Regions from separate parts of the Homo sapiens genome. Here regions 2, 3, 4, 5, 6 and 7 are each linked to region 1. The links are contacts of gene promoters, found by promoter capture Hi-C in blood cells and fetal thymus (Javierre and others, 2016). All regions are on one chromosome and are shown on one strand. The core of a region is centred on a gene start or on the middle of the fragment in contact, and the rest is flanking DNA. Distances in the headings are between cores, read along the strand shown.

Region 1 (4,155 bases), core at 679-3,178:
CCTGGCAATGTGGGCAATGCCAGACCCGTGAGCAGCCCAGCCAGCAGTAGGCTCAGGAAGAAGCAGCCAGCAGGTGGGCTGCGCAGGCGGCGGTCCCAGGCGATGCCCAGGGCTAGGAGCAGGTTCGCGGTGATGATGAGGCTTGCCAGGGCCAGGGAGAGCCCCAAAGCCCCCTTGGGAATGGGGCTGGGCACCTCGCCAGTGCTGTTGGGCGTCATCTTGGTCCTGGGGACAGGGGAGTCCTGGAGCGGCAGCCGGCATGCCTGCAGGATGGGGTGGCCAGAGTTAGGATGGGGCTGCAGGTCGTGTCCTCCTGGCAGGGCAGCATGTTAATCCAGGGGCGCAGACCCGCAGGCTGTGGGCTGTATCATGTTCGCTGATACACAGAATTTTTCAATTAATTGCCAATTAAACATTTATATAAAAAACTATCTTTGGTTTCTATTGAAAATTCAGGTCTGGCAACACATATGTCCTGTGTGGTAGCAACCAGCCGGAGCTCACTGCTGGCTGCCCTTCGGACAGTCCCCACCCAGCCAGCTTTATCCATTTCTGGTATCTGCCTTTTCTGGGCAGCTGTGTTGAGGTCTCTTGTTTAGACTGAAAGGCGGGCCCATCCAGCCCCAAAGCATTTTGTGTATCCCTGCCTCCACCGGGGAGGCCTCTAAATGAGAGAATGGACCAGGGCTGGCTGGTGTGTAGTGGTCTTCCAGCCAGCCATTAGGTGACAGGCTCCAGCGGGCCAGGTCTCGGGCACCCTGCACCCTTCCCCCCATCTGTCCTTGTAGCCATCACAGCTCAGTGAGCAGCCTCCGGGTAGGACTTCCAGCCCATAAACTTGACTCGTCTTTGCTCCACACTAGCAACAGGGTCCTTCCTGGGAGCTGGAGGGAGGAGAGAAGCAGCTGGAGGGCACGTGTGGCAGTGAACGTGGAGATGCCAGCAGCAAGGAGAGGGACTCCCCCACACCCCCAGGCCTGAGGCTGAGCCCAGAGGAGAGGGAAGAGGAGTCTGGGCAGAGTCTGGCTTCTCTGTGGCTCTCATCTGTCCCTGTCCTTCCCGTCATTCCCTGGTCTCAGTCCTCCAGTGTCATGGCTCTGCTGCCACATCCTGGGGACAGGGGGAGGGGTCCTGGGTCCTGTGGGAACTCCTGCTTCTGTCAACAGGGGAGCAGCTGCTGTTGCTAGGATCCAAGTCAATAAGGAAAGGATTCATACCTCTCCCCTCCTCCAGGACAGGGGATCAGGGCCCCATGGCTGCCCTGAGCTGAGAGGAAGGAAGATGCTCCCCTTCCTTCCCAGGTTCCCCCAGCACCCTGAGCCTGGGCCTCCAAGGCCTTATGCCCCCTTTCCCCTCCCCTAAGCATGTTTTCTCTTTCTCAATCTCTTCCAGTGCCCTCCACCCAGGATGTCTTTTCCTCTCTAGAGGCCTTGCAGTTTCTGTTCCCTTTCCCAGGGCATCATCAACTCTCTTAAGTCCCGTGAGACTCAGGGTCCATTACCCCAAACCTGGCCTGAGCTGGAGCTCCCAGCCCTAATCGGAATGATTCCCCCCAACCCACCTCCACTAGAACAGCGACAAAGGCAGGGAGCAGCCCCCAGGGGTGATTTCCCAGCAGGGTGCAGGCTGTACCACCTGCACACCCCCGAGGGTCTGGTGGCTTGGGCTGGGTGTAGTAGCCTCTCCAGGATCTGGGGTTTGGGGGTTTGGGGGAGTAGCTACTCACATGGCTGTTGGGAGCAGGTATTGCCTGCCCAGCCTGGGCCTTCCTGAGTGTCAGGGAGTTGCTGCAGCCAGCCCTGCAGCGGTTTGGACCATGTCTGGTGTCCTGGCTGAAGAGCACAAGTGGACCAAGTGCATGGTGTCTCCACCCAGTGGGGACAGCGGGGCCAGGCTCTCCTACCCAGGCTCTGCCCGTCTGGGTTCTCAGAGGGATAGAGAAATGAGGCTGGCAGGACTCAGCCCTGGCCCCGCCTCTGGGAGGGTGGGACCTGACATATTCCAAACTGCAGCAACTGGGAGGCCTGCCTCCCCCTCCCACCCAGTTCCCCTCTCCCCCTGCCACCTAGGTGGCAGTTTCCCTACTCCAGCTCGGAGTAATCTGAGAAATGCATTCCAGTTAATGAATAATAATGATTGACTTACCCCTCCCGACTTCCCGCCTCAGCTGATGCATTTACATTTAAGCCCCTGGACTGGCCAGCCAGCTGACAGCACACCAGGCTCCCTCCACACTTCCGTGTGTGATGGTGGCAGTGGCAGGTGTTTGGGGCCTGAGGATCTTCACTCCCCCATCCCATCACCTGATGGGCCTTTCAGTTTCTAAGGCCAGACTTGCCTTCCTGAATCTGGGGTCATTCCACACTTTTCTCAACTGCTTTCTGAGTCAAGTTCTGAACTATGAGGGACAAATGGCTCTGGGGATGTGACCATGGGTAAGGTACTACTGGGCCTCGGTTTTTGCCTGTGTTAAAATGGGAACAAGAAAAACCACCTCTAATTAAGGTCGTGGTGGGGAATATCACAGGATAACACATATGGCGGCATATACCCCAGTGCATGGCCCTTGATGGGTGGGGGTTTGCCCCAACAAATGGCTCCCTCTCTTTCCTCCCCCATGATGAAGAGGCATGAGCTGGCGCTGGAATCAGAGCTGTCTGGATCCTTTTTTAAAAAAGCCAGTGAACTTGGGCAAATGACTAAAGTTCCCTTGCCTTAGTTTCCTCATCTGTCAAATGGGGCCCATAGTTGTACTCACCTATCGTGAGACTAAATGAAGTCCCGTGTGATGAGGACTCAGATCAACACTTGGCCCTTCAGCACTCCGCGACAGGCAGCGATCGCTGGGAACATTATTAGGATTTCTGCCTTTCTCTGCACCTGGCCCCTCTAAGACAGATCTGCTGAGAGGGGCGCATGGGGAGCTTGGGAAAAGCAAGAGGGGAGTGACACTCTTGCTGCACAGGGAAGCTGAGGAAACCAGATACATTGAGAGGGAAGGGCAAGTTCAAGGCTGGGAAGCCAGAAGTGGTGCTTTGATTTCCACCTTGTATCAAGTGCGGCTTTGGAGTGAGGGGGAGGAGAGAAGCCCAGCCACACTCCCTTAAGGCCTGAAATGGGAGGGAACAGGCGGAAATTGCAGCAGGAAAGCTGGGACTGGGGGTGAGACATTAGGAAACACTTGCTGGCTGAAGAGCGCAAGTAAATGGAGCAAAGGGACTCTGGTGCTCTCCGGGAGAGCTGGGCCTGAAGGGCTGGAAGCCCGTGGAGTGTGGCTGTGCCAGCTCTGCACAGCCAGTCAGGGATCCTGGAGATCAGGGACTTCTGTTGGGACAAAAAGTGGGAAGAGGAAAGCATCCAGCCTCAAGTCCATCCTCGAGGGAGCTGGTGGGTCGGAAGGACGCAGGGTTCCAGGGCCGGTCCTCAGAACCACGGGATCTGGTCGGGCAGAAGTCACAGGCTCTGGGAGAGTTCAGCCTGGGGCCTGGACAGAAGTGGGTGTGGGACCCTTCTGATATGTGACTTCCAGGAATAAACAGACCTCCTGTTCCCAGCCCCAGCCTGCTCCCTGTGGGATCCAGGATGTCTGTTTCTTCTCTGCTGCTCTGTCTAAACACTGTGTGTGGGATGTGTGTGAAGGGGGACAGATTAGGTAGTGGCAGCCAGGGAGCCTGGGCTGTCTCCTGCTCAGCCTCATTTCTCCCTTCCTAGATCATCTAGTTCCTGTCTGTTCCATCAAGCCCTGGGGCTGACTCACCCCCTAGCTTCTCCCTTCAGCCACGGAGGGCTCTGGTGCAAGCCGTCTTCAGACGCTCCATCCAGCTGACTGTGCCCGGACCCCATTCTCCTTTCCTCAGGCAGAGCCTGAATGGGGGTGACCAATTCAGACTCTGGCATGGAATCCTCCTGTGCCTCCTTTGTCCGCTTCCATTCTCTTAGCTATCTGAATTTCTCTCTGTTGACCCACAATGTCTGGGACTGGGTGAGTGTCATGCTGGCTGCGGGTACCAGCTCTGGACCAATGGAGGCAGCAGGGACGGGGTTTGCTGGACCCTGGTTGGCCTCCCTGAGCCGCTGTTCAACACTTCACACTCAATGCCTGTAATCCTAGCACTTTAAGAGGCTGAGGCCTGGGCAACGTGGTGAGACTCCGTC
Region 2 (4,155 bases), core at 597-3,096, 460 kb before region 1:
AAGTTTCCTCCTTAAAGGAGTGTGAATGATTAGTAGCCTATGTTAGAAAATCTATTGCTGGCCGGGCGCAGTGGTTCATGCCTGAAATCCCAGTACTTTGGGAGGCCGAGGTGGGCAGATCACCTGAGGTCGAGAGTTCGAAACCAGCCTGAGCAACATGGAGAAACCCCATTTCTACTAAAAATACAAAACTAGCCAGGCATGGTGGTGCATGCCTGTAATCCCAGCTACTTGGGAGGTGGAGGCAGGAGAATCGCTTGAACCTGGGAGGCAGAGGTTGCGGTGAGCCGAGATTGCGCCATTGCACTCCAGCCTGGGCAACAAGAGTGAAACTGCGTCTCAAAAGAAAAAAAAAAAAGAAAAGAAAATCTATTGCTGCTGTCGCAAACCAACAAGTCTCCAGGGACCAGGCCCAGACCAACTTGGACAAGGTATCTATTTCTAGAGAAAGCAATTATTCATTACCCACTAATTAAATCACTCTCCTACAAGAGAGTGTGGCTCTTGGGAAATGCAGTTTCCCTTTCCTCCTTCAACTAGGTGTTTCCCTCGGTCACCAGGGAAACTCAGGACATCAGAAATGGTTCAGTCTACAGTCCACAAGATCTCTGATGAGATTACCTCAACTGCTCAACAGTTATGTTAGAAGATAGAACTGACAGGCTCACGCCTGTAATCCCAACACTTTGGGAGGCTGAGGCAGGTGGATCACGAGGTCAGGAGATCAAAACCATCCTGGTTAACACGGTGAAACCCCATCTCTACTAAAAATACAAAAGGCGTGGTGGCAGACGCCTGCAGTCCCAGCTACTTGGGAGGCTGAGGCAGGAGAATGGCCTGAACCCGGGAGGCGGAGCTTGCAGTGAGCCGAGACTGTGCCACTGCACTCCAGCCTGGGTGACAGAGCAAGACTCTGTCTCCAAAAAAAAAAAAAAGAAGAAGATAGAACTGACTTGCCTGGAACCAAATAGAGAGGAGTGTAGGAATCACATTAATTTTCTCTTATGAGATAAATCCCAAGCTCTCTCTCCCTAAGGAAAGGTGGAGGAGCAATATATCTCTCCTAAAGCCCTACTAAGAGAGGAAGGTCAAGAATACAGCCTAGTGAGAAGGGTGGGTCCGTATAAGTCAAGATTAGTGAAATTACAGGTAGCTCTTGTAGAGCACAGTTTAGCAATGCCAAACAAGTAAGCAAACCTGAGGAAAAGATACAGGTTATGGCAGCTGGAGCTGAGGGAGGTAAACCTATAAATTACTGAAAAGTGAAACCAGTGGAAGGGTTTATGTAATGGGGTGACTCACTCTCCTGAAGCCTTGCCCTTTATCAGCTTCGGGAAGGAGGCTCTTTCCTCCTTCTCAGGTGGGCTCTGGAGCAGCAGTTCTCAAAGCATGGTCCACAGACCCTGAGGGGACCCTAAGATCCTTTTGGCGGTCCTGCTACATAGAAAATATTTTCATAACAAAACTAAGAGGTAGCTGGGTGGGGTGACTTGTGCCTATAATCCCAACACTTTGGGAGGCTAAGGTGGGCAAATTACTTGGGCTCCAGAGTTCAAGACCAGCATGGGCAACATGGTGAAACCTTGTCTCTACAAAAAAAAAATACAAAAAATCAGCTAGATGTGGTGGTGCATGCCTGTGGTAGGAGGATCACCTGAGCCTGGGGGGTGGAGACTGCAGTAAGCCATGATCATGCCACTGCACTCCAGCCTGTCTTCGGACAAAAAAAAAGAAAAAGAAAAAAACCTAAGATGTTATTTGCCTTTTTACTGTGCTGACCTTTCCACTGATAGAGCAAAAGCAATAATGAGTAAAACTGCTGGTGACTTAGCATGAATCAAGACGATGGCACGAAATTAGATTCTTACCCACTATACTTTTCCACCACACAGTGAAAGAATACAACCAGGTTTACTTGATGGCACAGTGTAAATTTTTTTTTTCTTTTTGAGACAGAGTCTCGCTCTGTCGCCAGGCTGGAGTGCAGTGGCACGATCTCGGCTCACTGCAACCTCCGCCTCCTGGGTTCACGCCATTCTCCTGCCTCAACCTCCTGAGTAGCTGGGACTACAGGCACTTACTACCACGCCCGGCTAATTTTTTGTATTTTTAGTAGAGACAGGGTTTCACCGTGTTAGCCAGGATGGCCTCGATCTCCTGACCTTGTGATCTGCCCGCCTCGGCCTCCCAAAGTGCTGGGATTACAGGCGTGAGCCACTGCGCCCAGCCCGACACAGTGTAAATTATATTAAATCTCATTAAAAAGTGTCCTTGAGTATGCTTTTTAATATTCTGTGTGATAAAATGTGAAGTACATATAAAACATTTATGCTGCATGCAGAACATGTTGATTATCTCTAAAGCACTTGTGTGATTGTCTGAATTGCAGGATTTTTCTGTGGAACGCCATGTTTACTTGAAAGAATGAATGACACATAAGTAATAGTTATTCCGACGTCATTATTTGGCAAAGGTTCTGGAAAATGAAACAAAGTAAGCCTGTCACTTCAAGGAAACCAACTGACTGTACTTGTTGCCAATGATAAAATTTGAGCTTCCCAAAGAAAATTAGAATTTTGGCAAAATGGTATCTGCCACCACGAGTTTGAGTGCTTCCCAATATTTAACTACTTCTCTGAAGAGATTGTGGTGATATGATTTTTTTGACACTATACAATAAACTGTGACACGTGGGAGATCTGCATAACTCAGTGAACCAGTATTTTCCTAACAGTCATGCCTCACATAATGTTTCAGTCAACAGATAGTCCCCATAGAAGACAATGTCCCATAAGATTATCATTCCAGGCCGGGTGTGGTGGCTCACGCCTGTAATCCCAGCACTTTGGGAGGCCGAGGCAGGTGGATCACGAGGTCAGGAGATCGAAACCATCCTGGCTAACATGGTGAAACCCCATCTCTACTAAAAATACAAAAAAATTAGCCAGGCGTGGTGGCGGGTGCCTGTAGTCCCAGCTACTTGGGAGGCTGAGGCAGGAGAATGGCGTGAACGAGGAAGGTGGAGGTTGCAGTGAGCCGAGATTGCGCCACTGCACTCCAGCCTAGCGACAGATTGAGACTCCCTCTAAAGAAAGAAAAAAAAAAAGATTATCATTCCTTATTTTTACAGTAGCCTTTTCTATGCTTCAATGTTTAGATGCATTGTGTTGCAACTGTGTTGCAACTGCAGAGAATACTCATTATGGTGACATGCTGTTCAGGTTTGCAGCCTAGGAGCAATAGGCTATACCATGACTGTGTAGCATGACTGTATCACATGTTACAGAATCATGTATGGATCTAAGACCCAGTCAAAGTGAGACAGATCCATGGATTTTAACATAACAAAGTATGAAATGTTCACTGATATCATTTCAGATTCCACACTGTAACTAGCCTTTACAAAATCATGCTTTGTTTTGCATAGTACCAATACCCACAACTATCTGAGAAGACTACTGAAATACTTCATCCTTTTCCAGCCATCTGTGTGCAGCTGGATTTTCATTATTCAATCAAAACAACTATCACAATAGACTGGAGAAACATATGAAAATCCAGCTGTCTTCTATTAAGTCAGACACTAAAGAGATCTAAAAAACAATGCCACTCTTCTCACTAATATTTTTAAAACAGTAGCATTTTTTAAATGAAAACATTAAGTGAACTTATGCTAACCATAACTTAGGTTAGAAATGCTGTTTGTGTTAACTAACTTACGTTAGCATACAGTTAATGTAAATTGTAACATACGTAAAAATGTTATTCATGTTAGTAATGGGCTTATTACTTCTAAATGAATATTTCAGTTCCTAATATAATATTAAAATATAGGCTAAGCGCAGTGGCTCAAGCCTGTAAGCACTTTGGGAGGTTGAGGCGGGAGGACTGTTTGAGTCCAGGAGTTCGAGACCAGCCTGGGCAATATAGTGAGACCCCATCTCTAAACAAAATTTAAAAAGAAAAAATTGAATATTGAAATATATATATATATATCCCTTTTTTTTTAACTGAAGATTCCAAAGAGCTTTTTCAAGTACATAAAGAAATCCTGAGCCCAAAAACTCTGAGCTCTGAGCACTGCCGGTCTAGAGAAGCACTATGCTTCTCTAGCATATCTATGAGGGCTCCGAAGGACAAGGTCCTTTGTATTGT
Region 3 (4,155 bases), core at 668-3,167, 430 kb before region 1:
GGAGACACCCTACTTTATGACTTACCCACAAGGCAGGTTTTGGAGCCGAAAGACAAGAAGGGAGAGGAAGTAGAGTGTCACTTCAGTAGACTCTTCCCAATCTACTACTTTTACCTACAAAGGAAACCTAAGATATCAGAACAACCTCTGGCTGAGACAGTGGGGCTGCCAGGGGAAGCTGGCTTACCTTGCCCTGAATCAACATAAACAGGGATTCCAAGGCCAGGGGCTCCTGCCCCAGAAGACGGCACAGGCCCTCACTGACAAGGCAGCAGGAGTATAGAACCTGAGGGAGAAGGAAGGAGTCTGGCAGTGAGGCAGGGCAGGCCCCGGGCTCCAAGATTGAAGGCTCAGCGGAAACACCGGCCAGCCCCTCAAAAGATCTGGTACCCACACTTGGGAGTGTGAGAGAACCCCCTTCTGCCTCTTGCTATGAGATAGTGAGACAGGGACCCTTCTCGGTTCCGCTGAGGACTGGCTAACAGTGGGGTCCTCTCAGTTGAACAGATTTAAAAGCAGAAAGGAGTCTTCCAAGGGGGTGTCTCAAATGGTCTCTCTCAGTCTCTCTCTCTTTTAGTCCTCCTCTCTTGGTCTGTTTCTCTGCTTCTCTGTCTGCACTGGGAGTTAAAAATAAAGCTGTGATGCCAGGAGTTAAGAGGATTACCTTGAGAAGGTGCAGGCACAGGATGGGATGCTGCAGGCCAGAGATGAGGGATGGCCTGAGCTGGCTGCTGTCTTCAGTTAGCTGATTTGCCAAATGCCAACAGACCTATAGAGACATACCTGAAGGCTCAATCCTATCCACATGATTACAACCCTATTCCTCACATATGTCCAAAATGATCAGGACTCTCAGTCTCTTCCTAGTCACTCTTCCCACATTCACCAGAAACCTCAGACCCCATTCTATTCCCAGTCTTCATCACCAATAGAGAACCAAAAGTCATGGCCTAGTTTGGCCCCAGTGTAGCCAGGTACAGAGGAAAGGATTACCGACCAACAGGGATCAGGAAAGCTGAATTCTCAGCCCTTGAGGAAGCATCACTGGAGGCTTCAGATCAGCTGCCCCACCATCTGGGCAGTTTATCACTGTGCTCTCTCCCTCACCAACTGGCCATGGGCTCTGGGATTCTGGCTATATCATGTTCTACAAATGGCCCAGGGTGGGAGCATCTGTTTCTGGAAGTACTAAAGGAGGGGCTTAAAAGCTTGTTTTTCTGCCTTTCTGAAAAACTGGGGCTAGCCTCCTCAATTCCTCTGGCAGTAGGATGAGAGGAACAACCAATTGTAGCTCGGACCTGCTCCTTGGCATCCCAGCAGTCGGGCAGTCCCACAGGAGCAGTGCATATGGCTGCCAGGGCAGAGGAAATGGCTCCAGGTATATCCTCACTCTGCTCTCGCAGTGGCTGGCTCACTTGCGGGGCTCCTGTGGAGAAAAGCAAAGAGTAACTCCAAAGGCCTGAGGCTCTTGCCCTAGACAATAGCACCAGTACTCACCGACATGGCAGCAGGAGTAGGGAACCTAAGGGAGTGGGAAGAATGCAGGATGAGGTCTGTTTGTTTCCCTCAGATCCCCATTCATTCTCTCAGTTCACAGTTATTTATTGAGCACCTACTAAATGCCAGGTGCGATCTAGGTGATGGCAATAGAAAGAGCGGAGCCTGACCTATGCAACAAGTAAGTCAAGAGAACCTCCCTTCTCCACTCTGGTTACCTTGGGGAGTGTGGACAGGGAGCTGTGGAACTGTCAAGCCATGAAGGAGCCCATCCAAGACAACCTGCTGTGTCGTCAGCAAGCTGGAGTAAAAGGCTTTGGAGATGGCCCGGCTGTTCCCATCCATGGCTTCGCACAGGACAGTAAAGCACTAAAGGAGAGAAGTGCAGAGGTAGCATCAGGGCATCAGAAGACTGGGCTTAGTGTAAAAAACAAGAAAACCCTGAGGATCTGAGGAAAGAGGACAAAAACCAAAGCAAACACATGTCTAATTTTAAGCATTCTTCACACCAAAAATGCATTAGAACTGCTTTCATTCATGCTTCAAGGACAATAATTTTAGGTGTCAATCCTTCTATTCTCTGATCAGATGCTCCCTAGATGATGTTTCTCAAAGTATTTTTTATAGACTGTGAGTATAAGAATTCCTAGGGGTCAGGTGCAATGGCTCATGCCTGTAATCCCAACAGGGGATTGGGAGGCCGAGGCAGGTGGATCACTTGAGCTCAGAAGTTTGAGACCAACCTGGGCAACATGGCAAAACCCTGTCTCTACTAAAAATCCAAAAAAAATAGCCAGGTCTGGTGGTGTGCACCCATAGTCTCAGCTACTCAAGAGGCCGAGATGGGAGGATTGCTTGAGCCCGGAGGGTGGAGGTTGCAGTGAGTCAAGATCATGCCACTGCACTCTAGCCTGGGTGACAGAGAGACCCTGTCTCCAAAAAAAAAAGGAAAGAAAAGAAGAAATCCTAGGGATTCCTGGGTCCCTCCCAACTCAGTCCTACTGATTCAGAATTTCAGGAGGTAATTATTCCAAACTCCCCATTCTATTCATAGCATATGACATGAGAAGTGCTGGCCAATAGCATGAGTCACTGCTGGCCAAAATTTAGGTTAGACAGTAAAAGCTTTCTGACTTGAAAGGGTGAGGGATATTAAAACAGGATCTCAGACCAGGAAAGTCTGAGTGAATGCTAGCTAAAGGCAAGTAGTAGTCCAGATCTATGTTCCCAATTACCAGTTTTAACAATGACCAGGCAATTATTTACTTCCTTACAAATATATGTTCCTCTCTATCTCCTCTGAGGTTAGTCAGAACACAGCTATTTTCTCATTCAATCCTCCATTCTCCTGTCCCTTACCTCCAGGATCTAGGGAAAAGAACTGCATAGTCTACTAATCCTCAGGACAAACGAGGTTAGACAATACTAGATGATCTGCAAGTCTTTTCAAGAAGAAGTCGTTCTATTTGTGGTCCCCTGAAATATGCCAAACTGCTTAAAGCCTCTGGGCCTTTATATATGTTACTCTTTCTGTATAGAATTTCTACTTTGTGCCTCATTTACGTGGCAAACTGCGATGTATTCTTCAAATGCTAGCAGAGATGATTTCCTTCTTCGAGATTTCTTCTATGATACTCCAAATAGTGTTAAGTGCATCTTCTGCAGTGGTTAACTGCATCTTCTTCATAAAATACAGCAGTGCTCTTGTATTATATGCAAAGTTCTAATGTACTTTTCACTGTTGTCCTTAATCCCTTTACCTCTCCCCTATTAAATTATCCCTAGTCCCTTGAAGGCAGGCACTTTTTCTTACTCACATGGCATATGGCATGGTGGGAATTTAACAAATGTTTGTCATATTAACTTGATCTGACCCTACATAGTCATAAGAAAGGGGATGGGAGAAACACGGAGAATGATAGGAGACACAGAAATCTGGAAGTGGGAGCAGATTACCATAAGGCTGTCCCTCCGCAAAGTCTGCTCAGAGTCATCTGGTTGGGCCAGCAGTTTCCCCAACAGGTCCAGAAAAAGGTTGGCAGCCTCCTGAAACACCTGCAGGCTGGGGGTGGAAAATGAGCCCATGATTTCTTATCTCTCTACTAAAAGCCTGGATGTGGTGAATGGGTCAGTCCTGGGCAGGTAGGAGAATCTCTGCAAAGGGACACATCAGAATGTTCCTCCCTTCTCCCTTGCCACACACACACATACACCCTCCAAGCCCCTTCTTTGCCATTTTCTCTAGGTTATTCGCATATTTTTTTTCTTTCTTTCTTTCTTTAATCCAATTGGCTTCCTGGAATAGGTTATTCACATCTTGACCCTTCCATTTTAGGACCATGGTGACTGCTGACTCTTAGAAACTGTAAGTCTTGAGGCCAAGTTGGAGCTGTCTTAGGGTCCTTAAAAGGACTATGAGTGGCCACTCAGCTGATTCCTAAACCTGTAACAAATCACAGCTTCTTCATACTTGGCCTGTTCCTAAATGGGAAGGGCACTTGGGGTAGAAACAGAAGCCAAACTTGCCAACAATGCAAAAGCACTTCTTATCCTACCTGTCACTTGTCTGGCTCCTCTCCAGATTGAAGGTACAGGCAAAGTAGGCCTGAATCACAGCCATCAGGTCCTGTAAGAAGGTCCCATACCAAGATTGCTGCC
Region 4 (4,155 bases), core at 729-3,228, 410 kb before region 1:
TGGTGGGCACCTGTAATCCCAGCTACTCAGGAGGCTGAGGCAGGAGAATGGTGTGAACCTGCAAGGCAGAGCTTGCAGTGAGCCAAGATCACGCCACTACACTCCAGCCTGGGTGACAGAGCGAGACTCTGTCTCAAAAAAAAAAAAAGAAAAAAAAACTGTGTCTCAAAAAAAAAAAAAAAGCGTGTAGCACCTTTCCTTTCTCTATCTTCCTCCTGGTCCACCACGTAAGACATGCCTGTTTCCCCTTTGCTTTCCGTCATGATTGTAAGTTTCCTGAGGCTTCCCCAGCCATCCTTCCTGTACAGGCTATGGAGCTGTGAGCCAATTAAACCTCTTTTCTTTATAAAATACCCAGTCTCAGGTGGTTCTGTATAGCAATGCGAGAACAGAATAACACAGCCATTAATTCAGTAACTGCAAAGTCCCGCCTCAGCTCTGGAAAAGGATTTGGAAAAAGGAACAGAGATAGAGGGAGACAGATTTCTAATGTAAAAGTCATCTCCCTTTCAATATTCATTACCTTAAAGCAGGGACTGATGGTTGAGGGCCAGCGCACAGGGTCCTTGAGAATGAGGCTGACCAGCTGAAAGATGCTTGTAGCATAGAAGGGAGGGGTGCCTACTGCCAGTTCATATAGTATGCAGCCAACAGACCAGAGGTCCGCTGTGTGGTCGTATGGTCGCTCCTCCACCAGCTCTGGAGACATATAGAGTGGTGTGCCTTTGATGGATGTCAGCACCATTGTATTGGTGCTCATAGCCCGGGCAAATCTGCAGAAGATAATGGGATGGAAATGGAAAGGGAAAAGATATTCTAAACCTGGTCACTACTACCTAACATAGAGATATCCCAAACCGGAGCAGAGGGAGCACCTTTGATTAGGTTCCAGAAGACCCAGCAGCAGTCCCAGCCTCTAGCTCCGGTTCTAAAATGAGGCCCAAATAAGTCAAGAGTATGGTCTAAGATTCCCTGTGGGGCCAGGCTCAGTGGCTCATGCCTGTAATCCCAGCACTTTGGGAGGCCGAGGTGGGCAGATCACCTGAGGTCAGGAGTTCGAGACCAGCCTGACCAACATGGAGAAACCCCATCTCTACTAAAAATATAAAATTAGCCAGGCATGGTGGCACATGCCTGTAATCCCAGCTACTCTGGAGGCTGAGGCAGTAGAATTGCTTGAATCCGGGAGGCAGAGGTTGTGGTGAGTGGAGATCGCACCATTGCACTTCAGCCTGGGTAACAAGAGTGAAACTCCATCTCAAAAAAAAAAAAAAAAAAAAAGATTCCGTGTGGAACTGGAAGCTTAGATGGATGCTCAGAATCTTTACCCAAAGTCACAGAGCTTGATGCCACCACCCTTGGCGAGGAGGATGTTCTGAGGCTTCATATCTCGGTGTAGGATGCGGTGGGAATGCAGATAGTACAGGGCTGACACCAACTGGGCAGCAATGGCCTGAACCTAGAAATTAAAGAGGTGGAAGAAAGAAAAAAAAGGTTAGAAACAGCAGCTGGCTGACAAGCCCAAAAATTTCTCTTAATATTACTGCTAATCTTTTCTTCCTTCCCTTTCTTGCAGAGCTTCACACTATTCTTTCTTAGTTATTGTTCCCCTTGTTTAATCACTCTTTCATTTGCTCATTCATTCATTCAAGAAAAATTTATTGAATCTCATTTACTATCTGCTTGACCATGGGCAAACTAAGGTGACAATCTATATAATAACACCATCTACATGGAGGATTATTGTGAGGACTGAGTTAAAGCATGCAAAATAATACTCAGAATGGTGCCTGGCACATAGTAAATATTCAATACACATTACCTGTTATTAAATAAGACAAAATGCCTTTTTTCAAGAAAAGTAGTCAGACAAACAAACAAGACAGATAAAACAAATATGGTGGTCGGGCGTGGTGGCTCACACCTGTAATACCAGCACTTTGGGAGGCTGAGGCGGGCAGATCACCTGAGGCCAGCAGTTCGAGACCAGCCTGGCCAGCATGGTGAAACCCCATCTCTACTAAAAGTACAAAATTAGCTAGGCATGGTGGCGCATGCTATAATCCTGGTTACTGGGGAGGCTGAGGCACGAGAATTGCTTGAACCTGGAAGGCGGAGTTTGCTGTGAGCCAAGATTGTGCCACTGCACTCCAGCCTGGGCAACAAAGCGAGACTCTGTCTCAAAAAATAAAATTCAATTAAAAATAAAATAATTTCAAAAATATGATTACTTACAAATAGTGGTGAGTGCTCAGAAGGAAAGAGAATGCTGCAATAATGAATCCCAGGGGGGGCCTACTTGCTTGGGTACAGACAAACGCCTAGAATAAATGTGGCTGGAGGATATGTGCAACAAAATCCCACTGCTAACCACTACGTCCTGGTGCCAAATCCTGACTCCCCACAACCTTTATTCTTACTGCCCTCTTTCTGGTACCATTACACTGGCCCTTCTTCCCTAAAGGTATCTAATAACAATAATGTTAATAATAGCTAACTATTCAAACACATTACATGACTTAACACTCTTCATCATAGACTTATCAGGCAAACATGATTATTATCTCCATTTTACAAATTAGGAAACTAAGCACAAAGAAATTAAAGTAACTTGTCCAATGAGACCCAGCTAGGAAGGAGCAGAGCCAAGCTTCCTGCTCAGATATTTTGACTCCAACGTTTACATAATTTACTCCCACACTACACTGCCTCTATATACCTAGACTCTTATATTCTTCTCAGAAGTCTTTGAAATGGAGACTCTCAGTGTCCTTAGCTTGCTCTACCAGTTCTCTAACCTGGAGAGAGGTCGGAGGTGGGGAGAAGTTGAAGGCAGAAAGCATACCTGGTCTTCAGGAAGTTTTCCGTCATCTTCTAGGATCTGAAAGAGCTCTCCCTCAGCATAGTCTGTCACCACCACCACCTACAGAGAGAAGGCAGTGGCACTGATGGCTCCAGATTCATGCATTCTGAGGTTGGGAAATTCCTGGAACCCTTGTGCTTGGGGAGACAGGGCCCAAAACTGTCAAAGCACACCTCTTTATCAGTTTCAAAGCTGTCAAGCATATGCACAATGTTGGGATGCCGCAGACCCCGCATTATTTCAATCTCTCGTTGCAAATTCCTCAGCTCCTTCTCTGAGCGCCCCAATTTTGGGATGAACTTCAGGGCCACGACCTGTCAGTGGTAAGGTGAAAAGTTAACGCCTAATCACACTACTGAAAAGATCTAGAATTTCAGCCTTAATCTCAGAGCTCCAGAAGTCAGATTTTAGAGTGTTTGAGTAACTCTTATTATTTCTGTTAGTCTCCCGCTTCCATTTTCTCCATGGTACCCTGGCCTTATCCAGGCTTTCCCCATTCCTCATCCCAGGAGGAAACAGCATCTGCAAAACATTTCCCCTTCTGGAAGAAGTGTTCTGATTTGACCAGCACTCAAGATGAGATTTAGGAGAAAGGAAAGGAAAAAAAAAATGAAGAGGAAATAATAGAGTTCAAGTGGTTTACCTCTTATTACATGGTGTGCTAGAGACTAATAATATTTGTTGTTTACTAACAGCCAGGCACTGTACTAAGTGATTTAATGTGAAAACATATTTAATCCTCAAACTCCATCAATCAGTTGCTGTTCTTATCCCCATTCTAGAGATAAGGAAATTGAGACATAGGGAAGTTAAGTAATTTGTCCATAATTCTAGGGCTAGAAAGCGGTGGAGATGGAATTTGCACCCAAATAATCCAACTTCAAAGCTTATACTCCATAAGAAGTATGAGGGAGTCAGTACCTTAGGAATACAAACTGGTATAAATACATTCCTTCTAGATCCATTTTCCACTGGAGTTGGGGGTACCAAATCCCACCCAAAAGGTATCCCTCTTTGTGCAACACCTGAGCACTGTATTTTCTTCGACCCTTGTACACCCTCCCAAAAGAGCCTTCTCCAATCATCTCCAACACGTGGTACTTTTCCATGACAGAGGTTTCAGGATCTCTTAGAAGGAAGAAAGTAGAGACGGTGAAGAGCTATAGATCCAGGGACAGTTCCACAACATCTGGGACGCCTAGTTGGGGCACGGGAAAGGAAAAATGTTAGCCACCTTGCCTTTTCCTCTTTTTCACAATAAAGCCTCAAAAAACATGGGAGGGTGGAATGCA
Region 5 (4,155 bases), core at 930-3,429, 390 kb before region 1:
TAGGGAGAGAGACTGACAGGTAAACAACAGTGCAGTGTGACCTCGTTTCTGATAGGGCTGTGTACAGAGTGCCCTTAGGACGCCAGAAGAGAGAAGATAAGAGTTTCGGGAAGCCAGGCCCGGCGCGGTGCCTCACGCCTGTAATCCCAGCACTTTGGGAGGCCGAGGCAGGTGGATCACCTGAGTTCTGGAGTTCAAGACCAGCCCAACCAACATGGAGAAACCCCATCTCTACTAAAAATACAAAATAGTAGCCAGGCGTGGTGGTACATGCCTGTAATCCCAGCTACTCAGGAGGCTGAGGCAGGAGAATCGCTTGAACCCAGGAGGCAGAGGTTGTAGTGAGCTGAGATCGTGCCACTGCCCTCCAGCCTAGGTGACAGACTAAGACTGTCTCAAAAAAAAGAATGTCAGGAGGCCTTCATGGTGGAAGTGACATTTGTGCAGCTTCTTCAAGGATAGTTAATTGGTTAGCCAGATAAGAGAGAGAGATTGAGAAGGGGAAAAGGCATATCAAGCCAAGAGACGCAAAAGGCTGTGAGGGTATGAAAGCAAAAGAGAATGTGGTGGGTCTGGAGAATGGCACATCATCTGGTTCAGAGATCTGCTGAGGGGAGAAGTGGGAGATGAGTCAGGGGAGGTCAGCAGGAGCCAGATGATGAAGGAAGGGCCTTCCTTATAATCCATGCTGAGGAATAGTGAGATTATCAAAGGTTAAGAGGGAAAGGGACCAGGCAAGGTGGCTCACGCCTATAATCCCAGCACTTTGGGAGGCCAAAACGGGCAGATCACCCAAGGTCAGAAGTTCGAGACCAGCCTGGCCAACATGGTGAAACTCCATCGCTGTTAAAAATACAAAATTTACCTGGGCGTGTGTGGCACATGCCTGTAGTCCAGCTATTGGGGAGGCTGAGACAGGAGAATTGCTTGAACCCAGGAGGCGGAGGTTGCAGTGAGCCAAGATCACGCCACTGCACTCCAGCCTGGGTGACAGAGCGAGACTCTGTCTCAAAAAAAAAAAAAAAAAAGGACTTCTGAGATATTTGGGCCCCACCTAATTTTGTTGCAGATAAGAAATCTGAGACCCAAATTGCTTAATGACTTGGCTAAGGGCACTTAGCTAGCAGAAGACAACCTGCAGTCATTAATATATTGGCCAATACTTGTTGGCTGTCTCCTAATATTCTGTTATCATTTTTATACTTTTTGTTCTGAACATTATCATAAAAGAAAGCCTCTATTTAGTCTCATATGGTATATATGGCATATTGCCATGCAAGAAAATGCCTAAGTGGGTGGGCACTGGGCTGTGTACCCACGCCAGCCAGGAAGAAAGTAAGAACTCTAACCTTACTTTGTTTTTCTTCTGGTTGGCTTGTCAGCATTTAAGAAGCCAAAACACACAAGTCGGTGGTGATGACAGACCCCCTTTTGGACTCACAGCCAGCCAGTAGCACCGGGGAGATGGATGGACTGTGCCCTGAGCTATTGCTGATCCCCCCGCCTCTCTCTAACCGTGGAATCCTGGGGCCTGTCCAGAGCCCCTGTCCTTCCCGGGACCCTGCACCTATACCTACTGAGCCAGGCTGCCTGCTGGTAGAGGCCACAGCAACTGAAGAGGGACCAGGGAACATGGAGATCATTGTGGAGACAGTAGCTGGAACCCTGACCCCAGGTGCTCCTGGAGAGACCCCAGGTACAAACACAGTTGCAAGCAGGCCAGTGGGACAAGCAGCTCTGAGGTTTTGTCTGGGTTATTTTTGATTCTGTATAAATATGATGAGAACACAAGGTAGCATCCTATTTTTATACTTGGAGATGTTGTCATTTGGTTTGCAGTTGGTGCATGTTGATTGAAGGCTGGCGAAGTGGTGCACAGCCTTCTACCAAGCTTTTGGCAGTCTGTCCTGCAAGGGCTTCATGTGTGCTAGGCAGTAATCCAGAAAGTAAGACCTTTCTGACACCTCCGCCCAATCCTGGCTTGTCCCTACTCTTACAGTCCTTGGAGATTCTTTCCTCCATATTGACCCTCCTACCCAGGAACTGCAGCCAGGGATTAAGCAAAAACCCTGTCTCTACCACCCTGGGCTTGGCAGGGCTTTCCAGAAGTGATCTGGTATTTCCCTGCCCTAGTTTTTTGTGTATAACATACTTTACTCATCCGAGGCATGTTGTTAAGAATAAGAGTTGAGGCCTGGTACAGTGGCATGCACCTGTAGTCTCAGCTACTTGGGAGGCTGAGGCAGGAAGATTGCTTGAGCCCAGGAGTTAGAGGCTGCCGTATGTTATGATCATACCTGTGAATAGCCACTGCACTCCAGCCTGGGCAATATAGTGAGACCCCCATCTCTTTAAAAAAACAAAACAAAACAAAAAAGTAGGAGTTGAGCATTTGTATTTATCTCAGATGAAAGATTCTCCCTTTATTCATCCCATTATCCTCACCTCTTATTTTTAGGAAGCTTCCCTGTTTTTTAATTACCGTCCTCCAGCCATAGTTGTCACCACTTCAGTTGGCACTGTAGTATAGTGACAAAGAATATTGGGAAAGATTAGCTAATTTGACCATATAATATTTCCAAACTTCCATATGGTGAAAGAAATTTAAAAAAATAAAAAGCCTAGGAAAAACATTCGCAATATGTAAGAAAGAGTTAATATCTTTAAAATTCAAAGAGCCACAGTAAGAAAAAGAAACCATCTTTTTTGTTGTTTGCTTTGCTTTTTTTGTTTTCTTTTGGTTTTGGGGGTTTTGTTGAGACAGGGTCTTGCTCTGCCACCCAGGCTAGAGTGCAGTGGCACAGTTACGGCTCACTGCAGCCTTGACCTCCTGGGCTTAAGCAATCCTCTTGCCTCAGCTTCCCATGTAGCTGGGGCCACAGGTGTATACCACCCACACTCAGCTAGTTTTTAAATTTTCTTTGGTAGAAACGAGGTCTCACCTTGTTGCCCAGGCTAGTCTTGAACTCCTGGGCTCAAGCAATCTTCCCACCTCGGCCTCCTAAAGTTTTGGGATTACAGACATGAGCCATCGCACCCAGCAGAAACCTTTTTTTTTTTTTAAATGGGAAAAAGAAATCTATGTGCAATGCTCTAAAGAAGAAATAAAAGTAGTAACCATATGGAAGGATGCTTAATCTCACTAGCAAAGAAATAAATTCCAGTTAAAAATAAGAGATGTGGCTGGGCATGGTGGCTCATGCCTATAATCCTAGCACTTTGGGAGGCCGAGACAGGCAGTTGCCTGAGCTCAGGAGTTTGAGACCAGCCTGGGCAAGATGGTGAAACCCCACCTCTGCTAAGATACAAAAAATCAGCTGGCATGGTGGTGGGCACCTGTAATCCCAGCTACTCAGGAGGCTGAGGCAGGAGAATTGCTTGAACCCGAGAGGCGGAGGTTGCAGTGAGCCAAGATCGCACCACTGAACCCTAGCCTGGACAACAAAGCGAGATTCTGTCTCAAAAAAAAAAAAGGAGATGCATTTTGGCATAAATTAAACATTTTTAATAATACCTAGTGTTGATGAGGCTATAGGAAACACTATGTTACAGCTTATGGAGATACAAATTAGTATAATCTTTTGAAGGTCAATTTAGCTACATAGCAAATTTTACAATTTGCATACTCTGACCACTAATTCCACTGTAGGAATGCACAAAGACACCGGAATTACAGTGGCCAGAGCAAGGATGAGGATATATAGGGGTGCTTTATTTGTAATGGTTGGAAACAGCCCAAATGTCCATCAGTAACGGCACAATTTATTTTTTAAAATTATTTTTAGAATGGGCAACATAGGGAGACCCCATCTCTACAAAAAAATTTAAAATTAGCCAGGAATGGTGATGCCTGTAGTCCCACCTACTCAGGAGGCTGAGGTGGGAGAATCACTTGAGCCCAGCAGGTCAAGGCTGCAGTGAGCTGTGATCACACCACCACTGCACTGCAGCCTGGGTGACAGAGAGAGACCTTGTTTCCCCCACCACCAGCCAAAAAAATTATTTTTATTTTTTTGGTCCCCAGGGAAGCAAGGGCAGAATTTCGTTTTGATTTGTTCATGCTCTGGAAAAAACATGAACTGGATAAGAAAGTACAAACTAGATGTAAATGTACTCAAAGATAAAAATATCTTTGATATATAGCAAGTGGAAAGA
Region 6 (4,155 bases), core at 1,158-3,657, 380 kb before region 1:
TCCGCTGGGCTGCTGGCCTGCGCCATCATGCCCTCACCCACACCGACCGCCACCCCTTCTTTTGCCGCCTCTGCAACTACAAGGCCAAGCAAAAGTTCCAGGTGGTCAAGCACGTACGCAGGCACCACCCTGACCAAGCCGACCCAAACCAGGGTGTGGGCAAAGACCCCACCACCCCCACAGTGCACCTGCATGATGTGCAGCTGGAGGATCCCAGCCCTCCTGCTCCTGCCGCTCCCCACACTGGACCTGAGGGCTGAAAGCCTGCCCCACCTCCTGTATAGGAAGAGGGTATGGTCTGAGATGTGCAGACTGGGACCAGCGCTAGCCTGAGGAGCTCAGAGCCTAAGGAAAGACTGGCTTTTGGGGTACAAGGGTGACTAGAACCTTCCTGGGACTCTGGCTATAGTACTTTGAAATTATCACCCATATAAAAGAGGGACATGGACTATAACGTTGATTTCTTATTGCTGTACATTGCGTTTTTAACCTGCAAGTTCTCAGTTTCTTCACCATCACTCCATCAAAGTCCCTGGCTATAAGATCTGGATTTTACCCACTCCATCTTCTCTTTCCTTCTTACTGTGTCAATTCCTATTTTCTTTCAGAATCTTCTAAAAACAGTTGTATCTAACCGCATGTGCTGTTGTGCCTAATGCTCTATAAAGCATGTTAAACAGAAAGTGGTTACTACATTATAGATTCATCCAAATCCCTGTCTTAACATTTCCAGGCTGTCATCTTGATCAACTCTGTCCCCTCTCAGACCTCTGCCTCCCTTTTGTCCCTTCCATCTTCACTCAGTATTGATACTGAAACAGGCCTAGGTCTGCCTTCTCCCTGTCCTTGAGCCATCTTGACCCTTGACCTGCTCCCTACTTCCAAGCTCCTTTGTCTACCTGTATCTATAGAGGGAGGATTGCTACCCACTAAGCCTCCTCCTAGAAGCAACTTTAGCTCATCATCAATCCTCAGACTGGCTCAGCAGCTACACTAAGGTGTTAAAGCACAAGGATACTATGGAAAGGCAGATGACTAGAGAGGAAAATCTCCAATTCAGAATTCTATAACTGCTTCACAGTATAATTCTGTAGTGCCTTACTATATAATTGATCATCTAAACTGAGACACACTGGGAAAACTTAAAGAGGGTACTATTAATAATTATGCTGGGACAACAGACATAAACCAGGATGGTTCCAGCCAGACTCTTCAGGAAGGCTGGGACCACATAACCTTTTGTCTGCTTTTGCCCTGATTCTTAAAAGCCATACTCTGTGTCCTTCCTATGTAGCACATGCAAGAGGTCTCCTGGGAACCTCTTTCTCTACCTTTTCCTTGTCTCACCTGACTACCCAGATGTCCCCACAACCCTTGTACCTCCCCTTCTTGCCCAACAATGACAGACCATATTGAAGCCAAATTGGAGAGAGATGTATTTATACCAGTGGGGCTAAGGAGGAAGCAGTCCAGTGGGGGACTTTGAGTGCTGTGCAGTGTTCTCTTAAGAGTCGTAGTACAGTCCTGGGGTCAAGTCTCTTTCCCTAATCTTTGCTGGGGAAGCCTTGAGCCTTGATTTATCCTTCCCTTGGCTTTGGGCTTTGAGGAAGTTGGGGATGGAGGGGATGATGCTTCTTTAGGTTTCTCTATTCCAAGCCCCTCTGAATTTCTAGTTGCAACCTGCCTTCACACAGAGTTGATGGGAAAGATTAGTTGTAGATGTCGGTATGGGATTGAGCCTACAGCAAGAGGAAGAAGGGAACTCCAGTATAGAGTACACAAAGGAAAAGGGCAGGAAAGATACCAAAGGCTTATGAAAACAAAGGAAGGGAAGAAAAGAGAAAAAAGGTGGAAAATCAGGTCCCAGATTGCTTGTTAGGAAGAATGAGGTAATTTTGTGCCTAGGAATGCACAATCCAAAGCTTGATTTTCACCACCTCCATTTGTTCTCTCGAGCATCCTTCCAGATGTTTCTCCCCGTCTAAAGCCAGCACACCAACCCTTCCCGTGAAATGCCCACCTCAGGACTCATCCCCCTCCAGGCCTTCCTGGATGCAGATATACACAAAGATGGAAGCTGGGCGGAGGCTGATGCCATCTTTGGACAGCAGGTGAATGTGGCGGTAACCTGGAAGGGGCAGGAGGACAGCATTAGGAAGGCAGCCAGAGCTGGGGTATTGGCCAGGGGCCAAAGGGGCTGGCTCACCTTGTTGCATGCAGGTCCAAGGCAGGGTGTACTGACCAATAAAGTCATTTCGGGATTTCCAGTCATAATCCATTACCACAAAACGCAGCATGGCAAGTTCAGGCACCAGCACCCGGAAACATAGTGTCTGCCCCCAGTATGGATTAAAACCTGAGTTGGTGGACAGAAAGAAATAAGAAGACATTATGACAGTTTTCTTGACTGGGTTGCTTTTCTTGTGTTCTCATTTAATCTAGATGGCAATCAGCATTTTACAGGTAAGGAAAAAGGCTCAGAGTAAGCAAGTAATTTGCCCAGGTCACTGGAGCTTTTAAGTGAAGAGCCAGGATTCTTTGTACTGTTCCACACTGCCTCCCATGTGGGGACATGCAATAACAGATGCTATACTTAATGGAAGACAGACTAGAAGGAAAACTAATCATGCTCCTACCCCCACCTCCCCAGCACTGCCAGTTTCTCACCATTGTTCTCCACATAGTTGGTCTCCTGCCGTGCTGTGTCTAGACGAACGCCAAAGATCTGCACTTTCACCAGTGGATCCACAATGGACCCCTCTTTGGTCTTGTCCACTTTGGGGAGTTGCTGACCGCTGATCACCTGTAGTCAGGGCTCTGGAATCTCACAAGTTCCTGCTCAGCCCAGCCCCACCCGACCCTACTCCCAACCCCAGGGGAGAAGAAGCTTTTTGGTTTGTAAAACATCCTCCATGGGTAATATATTTTCTTCTAGTATTCTATCTGCAATTTAAAATGCACCCAAAGGCCGGGCACGGTGGCTCACACCTGTAATCCCAACACTTCAGGAGGCCGAGGTGGGCAGATCACTTGAAACCAGGAGACCAGCCTGGCCAACATGGTGAAACCCTATCTCTACTAAAAATACAAAAATTAGCCAGGCATGGTGGCGGGCGCCTGTAGTCCCAGCTACTCGGAAGGCTCAGATGGGAGAATCACTTGAACCCAGGAGGCGGAGGTTGCAGTGAGCCAAGATCATGCCACTGCACTCCAGCCTGCAGCAGAGCAAGACTCTGTCTCAGAATAAACAAATAAATTAAATGGATCCAGGTAGAAATTCAACAGTTTGAAAGTAGGCATGCTAATGACAGCAGCCACTTTTTTTTTTTCAAAGAGACACGATCATACTCTTGACCAAGCTGGAATGCAGTGGGGCAGTCATAGCTCACTGCAACCTCCATCTCCTGGGCTAAAGTGACCCTCCAGCCTTAGCCTCCTGAGTAGCCAGGACTATCTATAGTCATGTGCCACCATGCCAGGCTAATTTTTAAATTTTTTGTAGAGACGGGAGTCTCTACAAAATTTTTAAATTTTTTGTTGAGACCAGTTTCAGACTGGTCTCAAACTCCTGGGCTCAAGCAGTCCTCCTGCCTTGGCCTCCAAAGCGCTGGGATTACAGGTGTAAGCTATCGCTCCCAGCCAGCCTCTTTTATAGCACTTCCTGTGTGCCAGGAATTGTAAGAACTTTATATTAACTGTTATACTCCTTATAACCCTGTGAGGCAGGTGGTAGTGTTACCCCTATTTTGCAGGTGAGCAGACTGAGGTATGGAGAGGTTAAGGAACTTGCCCAACATTACCCAATTAGGAAGTTGTGGTTTGAAGCTAGGCAGCTGGCTCCAAAAGCTAAAACTAGACACTGTTAATAGGCTATCCGGCCTCTACATTCCGGTCAGGCCTAGCCACCTCTTCCCTCACTTCTATCCCAGTTATCTCAGTTTCTTCCCAACAGTTTATTTCCACTGTACCTGGATTAAGAGAGTCTGGGCTTTGAAAGGGCTGATGGGCTTCTCAGGGTGGAAAGAACTCTGGATATCACGCAGGAAGTCTGGCTTCAGCACATAGCCACAGCCGCCATTCTGGCGGAAATGCCCATCACAGATGTCCATTTCAAGCCCTGCAGTCTGCATATTCATGGCCACTGAGGGCCCCAGG
Region 7 (4,155 bases), core at 1,001-3,500, 350 kb before region 1:
AAAAAAATTTTTTTTAAATTATTATTTGTTTTGTATGGAGATGGGGTCTCCCTGTGTAGCCCTAGTTTTAAACTCCTGGCCTCAAGCAATCCTCCTGCCTGGGCTTCCCAAAGTGCTGGGATTACAGGCGTGAGCCATCATGCCCAGCCCCATCCCCACCTCTCTCTCTCTCTTAATCCTCTGTCTTCCTGTTTGCTCACCTAGGTCAGTCTCTCCTCTTCTCTTCCTTCTCCTCATCCCTTCTCCCCATCACCTCTTCCAGTTGGTTCCCTCTTTTGACTCCACTAATTCGCAATGGCTCTGAGTCTCATCTCCTTTGAGAATTTTGAGACTGTGGTCCAGAAGGGAGGACACTTGGGTTCAGAACTCAGTAGCATGCGTGTCCCTCTGCTCAGCCTCACTTTTCTCTGTATCCTAGGAGATTGACCAAACAAACTGCCCAGACAATGTGAGTTAGAACCTAGGTATTCTAGGTCTTGCTGTTTCCTCTGGTGTCTAATGGTAGAATGGGAAGGATGCCCACAGCTGATGCAGGTGCAATGAGAAGAGAAGGAACAAAGGGTTTGGGAGTGAGGGCACTGGGAAAAACACAGAGGATGACATCTGATAATAAGAAAGGTTGGTCTTAAATATTAACTCATAGACACATATATGGAGATCTTCAATGATATGGTAATTACCTCTCTAATACAGATACGAAAATAGGGACACAAAATGAGATGGGAAGTAGCCCAGAGCTGCAGAGCGCAATTTGGTCCTCAATTTCTAAGAGACTTCATGTCACCTAGAGATGGACTTTGGCAGAGTTACCAATGGCACCAAGGAGATTACAGTGGGATTCAGGGTGTCTCAGGTCTCTCTGAGGGGCAAGAAAGAAGAGAATCATTTTGTCTACTCCCTTGCTTCTGAGAAGGATTATGCCTAACCTGGTTCATATAGAGGACAAATTGGCTCTGGTCACAGGTCACAGAATGTTGGAGCTTGAAGGTTCTTTTTTTTTTTTTTTTTGAGACAGAGTCTCGCTGTCGCCCAGGCTGGAGTGCAGTGGTGCGATCTTGGCTCACTGCAGGCTCCGCCCCCCGGGGTTCACGCTATTCTCCTGCCTCAGCCTCCCGAGTAGCTGGGACTACAGGCACCCGCCACCCACCTCGCCCGGCTAATTTTTTGTATTTTCAGTAGAGACGGGGTTTCACCATGTTAGCCAGGATGGTCTCAATCTCCTGACCTCGTGATCCACCCGCCTCGGCCTCCCAAAGTGCTGGGATTACAGGTGTGAGCCACCGCGCCCGGCCAGTTCTTTTATAACACATCTAATCCAGACATTCCCAGCTACATCAATAGCCTCTGGAATGTCTTGAAATTGAGATCCTTAGCCCTACCCAAAAATCTACCAGATCAGAGTTACCCAGGGTGGGGCTCAATAATATATTTATTTTTAACAAGTACACTTGGTACACAGGCAAGTCTGGGAAACCCTAAACTCTCTCGTATCACAGATCTGGAAGTTGTGGCTCCAGGTCCCGTAGCTAGTTAATGGCACAGGCAGAACTAGAAGTAGGTTTTCTTACCAACGTAGCACTCTGGTGCACTAAGAAACTGCTCTGGCCCATGGAATAGGCAAAGAACAAGTTCTTTAGAGAACTTTCTAAGGGACTTTCATAACTCTCTCTATTACCAGGGATCTCTGATTCCCCATGGTTCTTGGCCAACCCCTATTTTGCAACCCTCAACAAACTGTTAATGAATCTATGCTAAAGCTTAGCTACTCCAATTTTTTCTTCCCTTATTGGGGGTGGAGTTCACCTCAGGAGTGGCTAGGGTTGGCACTTCTGGCCCTGCATAAGCTAAGAGGTACCTCATATAAAGGGCGACTGACACAGCCAGGAGGAAAGCTGTAAGGATAAAGGAGGATAAGCTAGAGAGAACCAGGAGGTGGGAGCCCTGTAGAGCTGTTGGGATGAGGAAAGGAGTCTAGGGTACAATTTAATCAGGGTGGATAAGCATCTAGAGGGCAGAGGTAGGGACTCAGGGAAGACAGAGCTTAGAGCAGAGGGTAGTCAGAGCTTCCAGATCCTTACCGTGGGCAGGAGAGCAGAATAGCAGTCCTGTGTTTCCTGTGTCTGTGAGCTGTGCCTCCCGAGCTCTGCGATGCTGTGGGATCAGGAAGCCCAGCCTGGCTCCTTTTCTCTTTTGCTCCCCTTGCACTGGCTTGTTTCCTCCCCTCTTCTACAGCAGCTGGCTGCTGTGACTGGCAAGTTATAGCCGGAGGGAAGCAGTAAGAAGGGGAGAGGTGTGAGCTCTCTCCAGTCCAGCCCATCCAACTCTTAAAGGCCCAGGACACTGGTCAATGTGAGGGAGTAGTGGGGGTGGGGTGGGGAGAGAAGGATTAAGGGCAGCACATCTCCAGGGAGGAGCCTGGCTGCCCTTCATCTTGATGCCAGCCCTCATTGACCCCAATCCCGCAGTAGCTCTCAAAGTGAAGGGAGTGTCCTCAGTTGCAGTGCTCTGTGAATCACTGCTTTTCATTCTGGTTCCTGCATGTAATACGGCTGTTTTTGCCCTTATTTAATCTGGCTCCTTTCCATAGTGTCTGTTTCCACTGGCCTGCTCCTGTATCTCTGAATCCTGCCTGCAGGGCACTCACTGTAGCTCCGTCCCACAGGAAAAGAAAGAAATAAGATGGGAAAAGAGGAAGACGAGGAGAAGGGGAGGACAGGAATGATGATAGAATGTAGAGGGACAGATAGGTTAGAATCTATGTATATTTTAGGCACTCATTAAATATTGAAAGAATGCATAGATGAACGTGTGAAACAGCTCATTTTTTTTTAAACATCCATTCGTTCCTCCTACAAGCATCTGTTCAGCACCTCTGGGTTATAAGTCATAGCCCTCAGAATGGAGGTAGCACCTTCAGGACATACATGCATGTTTATAAAGATGTGTGCAGAGATGAAGCATAGGCTCAGAGGGGAACTGTGTGAAATGGTGTAATTTTAAGTGTGCTGACGTCTGGCTGCCTATCATGGTTTCCACAAGCATCCCTCAACTGCCTAATATTTTACCATTAGTGATTATAGCTACATTTTTTAGTCCCATTAAAATAAAATCCTCCTAAGTGATTACTATAAAAGTCAGGATAGTGGTTACTGTTGGGAGGGGGAGGAATTGTGGTGAGATGGGACACAGAGGGGGCTTCTGGCATAGCTAGCTAAACTCTATTTCTAGTTCTAAGTGCTAACAAGGGTCTTCACTTAATAATTTATTAAGCTATACATTCTCTTGATATATTTTCTATATGTGTTTTTAAATTTATTTTTTTAGGTCTCATTTAAAATATCATATATCTGTGTTAACTTTTGAAGGCTTAATGATTTTAAATATACATATATGTATATGTATATGTGTGTGTGTGTATATATATATATATATATATTTTTTTTTTTTTTTTTTTTTTTTTTTGAGATAAGAGTCTCGCTGTTGCCCAGGCTGGAGTGCAATGGCGTGATCTTGGCTTACTGCAACCTCTACCTCCCGGGTTCAAGCAATTCTCCTGTCTCAGCCTCCTGAGTAGCTGGGATTACAGGTGCATGCCACCACCCCCAGCTACTTTTTTTTGTATTTTAGTAGAGACGGGGTTTCACCGTGTTGCCCAGGCTGGTCTTGAGCTCCTGAGCTCAGGCAATCCACCTGCCTTGGCCTCCCAAAGTGCTAGGATTACAGGCGTAAGCCACTGCACCCAGCCGATTATAAATAATTTTTTAAAAATTCAATCCTAAGGTCAAAGTAGATTTTAAATAATTTATACCTAGGTTGGGTTGTCTATATTCTTTACTGAGAGCAGGTTTTGATAGAAGAGTAGTAGTATGAAGGAAGGGGACACATTAGGAGGGAGGCCATTCATGGGGAACAGGAAGATTGGGGGGCATCGTAGTTTAAACTGTGCTGATTTCAGATTTGACTTAATAGAGGCCCTGTTTTACATGCTTGTCTTGCTCTCCCATTTCTACTTCCCCAACATGGCCAGCTTATTTTTCCAAGCCTCACCTTCACAGTCCACACTCCTCTTCTATACCCCCAGATTATATACCATCTTTCTGAGTCACTATTTGCATCAATTTAATGCTGCCCAACCTCCTTCCCTCTTGGGTAATC

The links. Contacts are between HindIII fragments. The CHiCAGO score rates a contact against its expected background, and 5 or more counts as called.
Region 2: a fragment that was not itself captured here is called in contact with the fragment with the promoter of GPBAR1 in region 1 in 2 of 17 cell types (fetal thymus and neutrophils); the score reaches 5.3 in fetal thymus.
Region 3: a fragment that was not itself captured here is called in contact with the fragment with the promoter of GPBAR1 in region 1 in 1 of 17 cell types (total CD4 T cells); the score reaches 5.0 in total CD4 T cells.
Region 4: a contact is called between a fragment that was not itself captured here and the fragment with the promoter of GPBAR1 in region 1, in 3 of 17 cell types (total B cells, naive B cells and naive CD4 T cells). The highest score is 6.4, in total B cells.
Region 5: a contact is called between a fragment that was not itself captured here and the fragment with the promoter of GPBAR1 in region 1, in 4 of 17 cell types (fetal thymus, naive CD4 T cells, naive CD8 T cells and 1 more). The highest score is 6.3, in fetal thymus.
Region 6: a contact is called between a fragment that was not itself captured here and the fragment with the promoter of GPBAR1 in region 1, in 6 of 17 cell types (total B cells, non-activated CD4 T cells, naive B cells and 3 more). The highest score is 5.5, in total B cells.
Region 7: the fragment with the promoter of PLCD4 here is called in contact with the fragment with the promoter of GPBAR1 in region 1 in 1 of 17 cell types (neutrophils); the score reaches 6.4 in neutrophils.

The regions. Positions count from the first base shown.
Region 1 is chr2:218,258,788-218,262,942 of GRCh38, reverse strand. GPBAR1 (G protein-coupled bile acid receptor 1) reads right to left here and starts at 1,928. Exons shown (of 2, transcript NM_170699.3): 1 at 1,727-1,928; 2 at 1-263. The coding sequence starts at 218. RefSeq lists an enhancer at 676-1,481. The HindIII fragment of the contact is 11,967 bases long and covers 1-4,155 here.
Region 2 is chr2:218,714,582-218,718,736 of GRCh38, reverse strand. The region is part of intron 1 of TTLL4 (tubulin tyrosine ligase like 4); the gene reads right to left. Among named protein-coding and RNA genes, the nearest start is that of TTLL4, 5.8 kb to the right of the region's middle. The HindIII fragment of the contact is 4,797 bases long and covers 1-4,155 here.
Region 3 is chr2:218,689,854-218,694,008 of GRCh38, reverse strand. It overlaps STK36 (serine/threonine kinase 36), which reads right to left. Exons shown (of 27, transcript NM_015690.5): 13 at 4,053-4,150; 14 at 3,454-3,559; 15 at 1,716-1,866; 16 at 1,299-1,426; 17 at 665-769; 18 at 188-286; 19 at 26-114. Among named protein-coding and RNA genes, the nearest start is that of TTLL4, 19 kb to the left of the region's middle. The HindIII fragment of the contact is 1,414 bases long and covers 1,211-2,624 here.
Region 4 is chr2:218,672,647-218,676,801 of GRCh38, reverse strand. STK36 (serine/threonine kinase 36) reads right to left here. Exons shown (of 27, transcript NM_015690.5): 2 at 3,889-4,061; 3 at 3,037-3,177; 4 at 2,846-2,923; 5 at 1,329-1,459; 6 at 524-773. The coding sequence starts at 3,972. Among named protein-coding and RNA genes, the nearest start is that of STK36, 2.6 kb to the right of the region's middle. The HindIII fragment of the contact is 1,348 bases long and covers 1,305-2,652 here.
Region 5 is chr2:218,653,691-218,657,845 of GRCh38, reverse strand. ZNF142 (zinc finger protein 142) reads left to right here. Exons shown (of 11, transcript NM_001379659.1): 4 at 1,383-1,696. The coding sequence starts at 1,417. Among named protein-coding and RNA genes, the nearest start is that of ZNF142, 3.9 kb to the left of the region's middle. The HindIII fragment of the contact is 571 bases long and covers 1,894-2,464 here.
Region 6 is chr2:218,634,444-218,638,598 of GRCh38, reverse strand. PLCD4 (phospholipase C delta 4) reads right to left here. Exons shown (of 16, transcript NM_032726.4): 13 at 3,969-4,141; 14 at 2,668-2,803; 15 at 2,207-2,356; 16 at 1,424-2,128. The coding sequence ends at 2,022. It overlaps ZNF142 (zinc finger protein 142), which reads left to right. Exons shown (of 11, transcript NM_001379659.1): 11 at 1-4,155. The coding sequence ends at 260. Among named protein-coding and RNA genes, the nearest start is that of ZNF142, 23 kb to the left of the region's middle. The HindIII fragment of the contact is 965 bases long and covers 1,925-2,889 here.
Region 7 is chr2:218,605,994-218,610,148 of GRCh38, reverse strand. It overlaps PLCD4 (phospholipase C delta 4), which reads right to left and starts at 2,250. Exons shown (of 16, transcript NM_032726.4): 1 at 2,079-2,250. The HindIII fragment of the contact is 12,670 bases long and covers 1,760-4,155 here.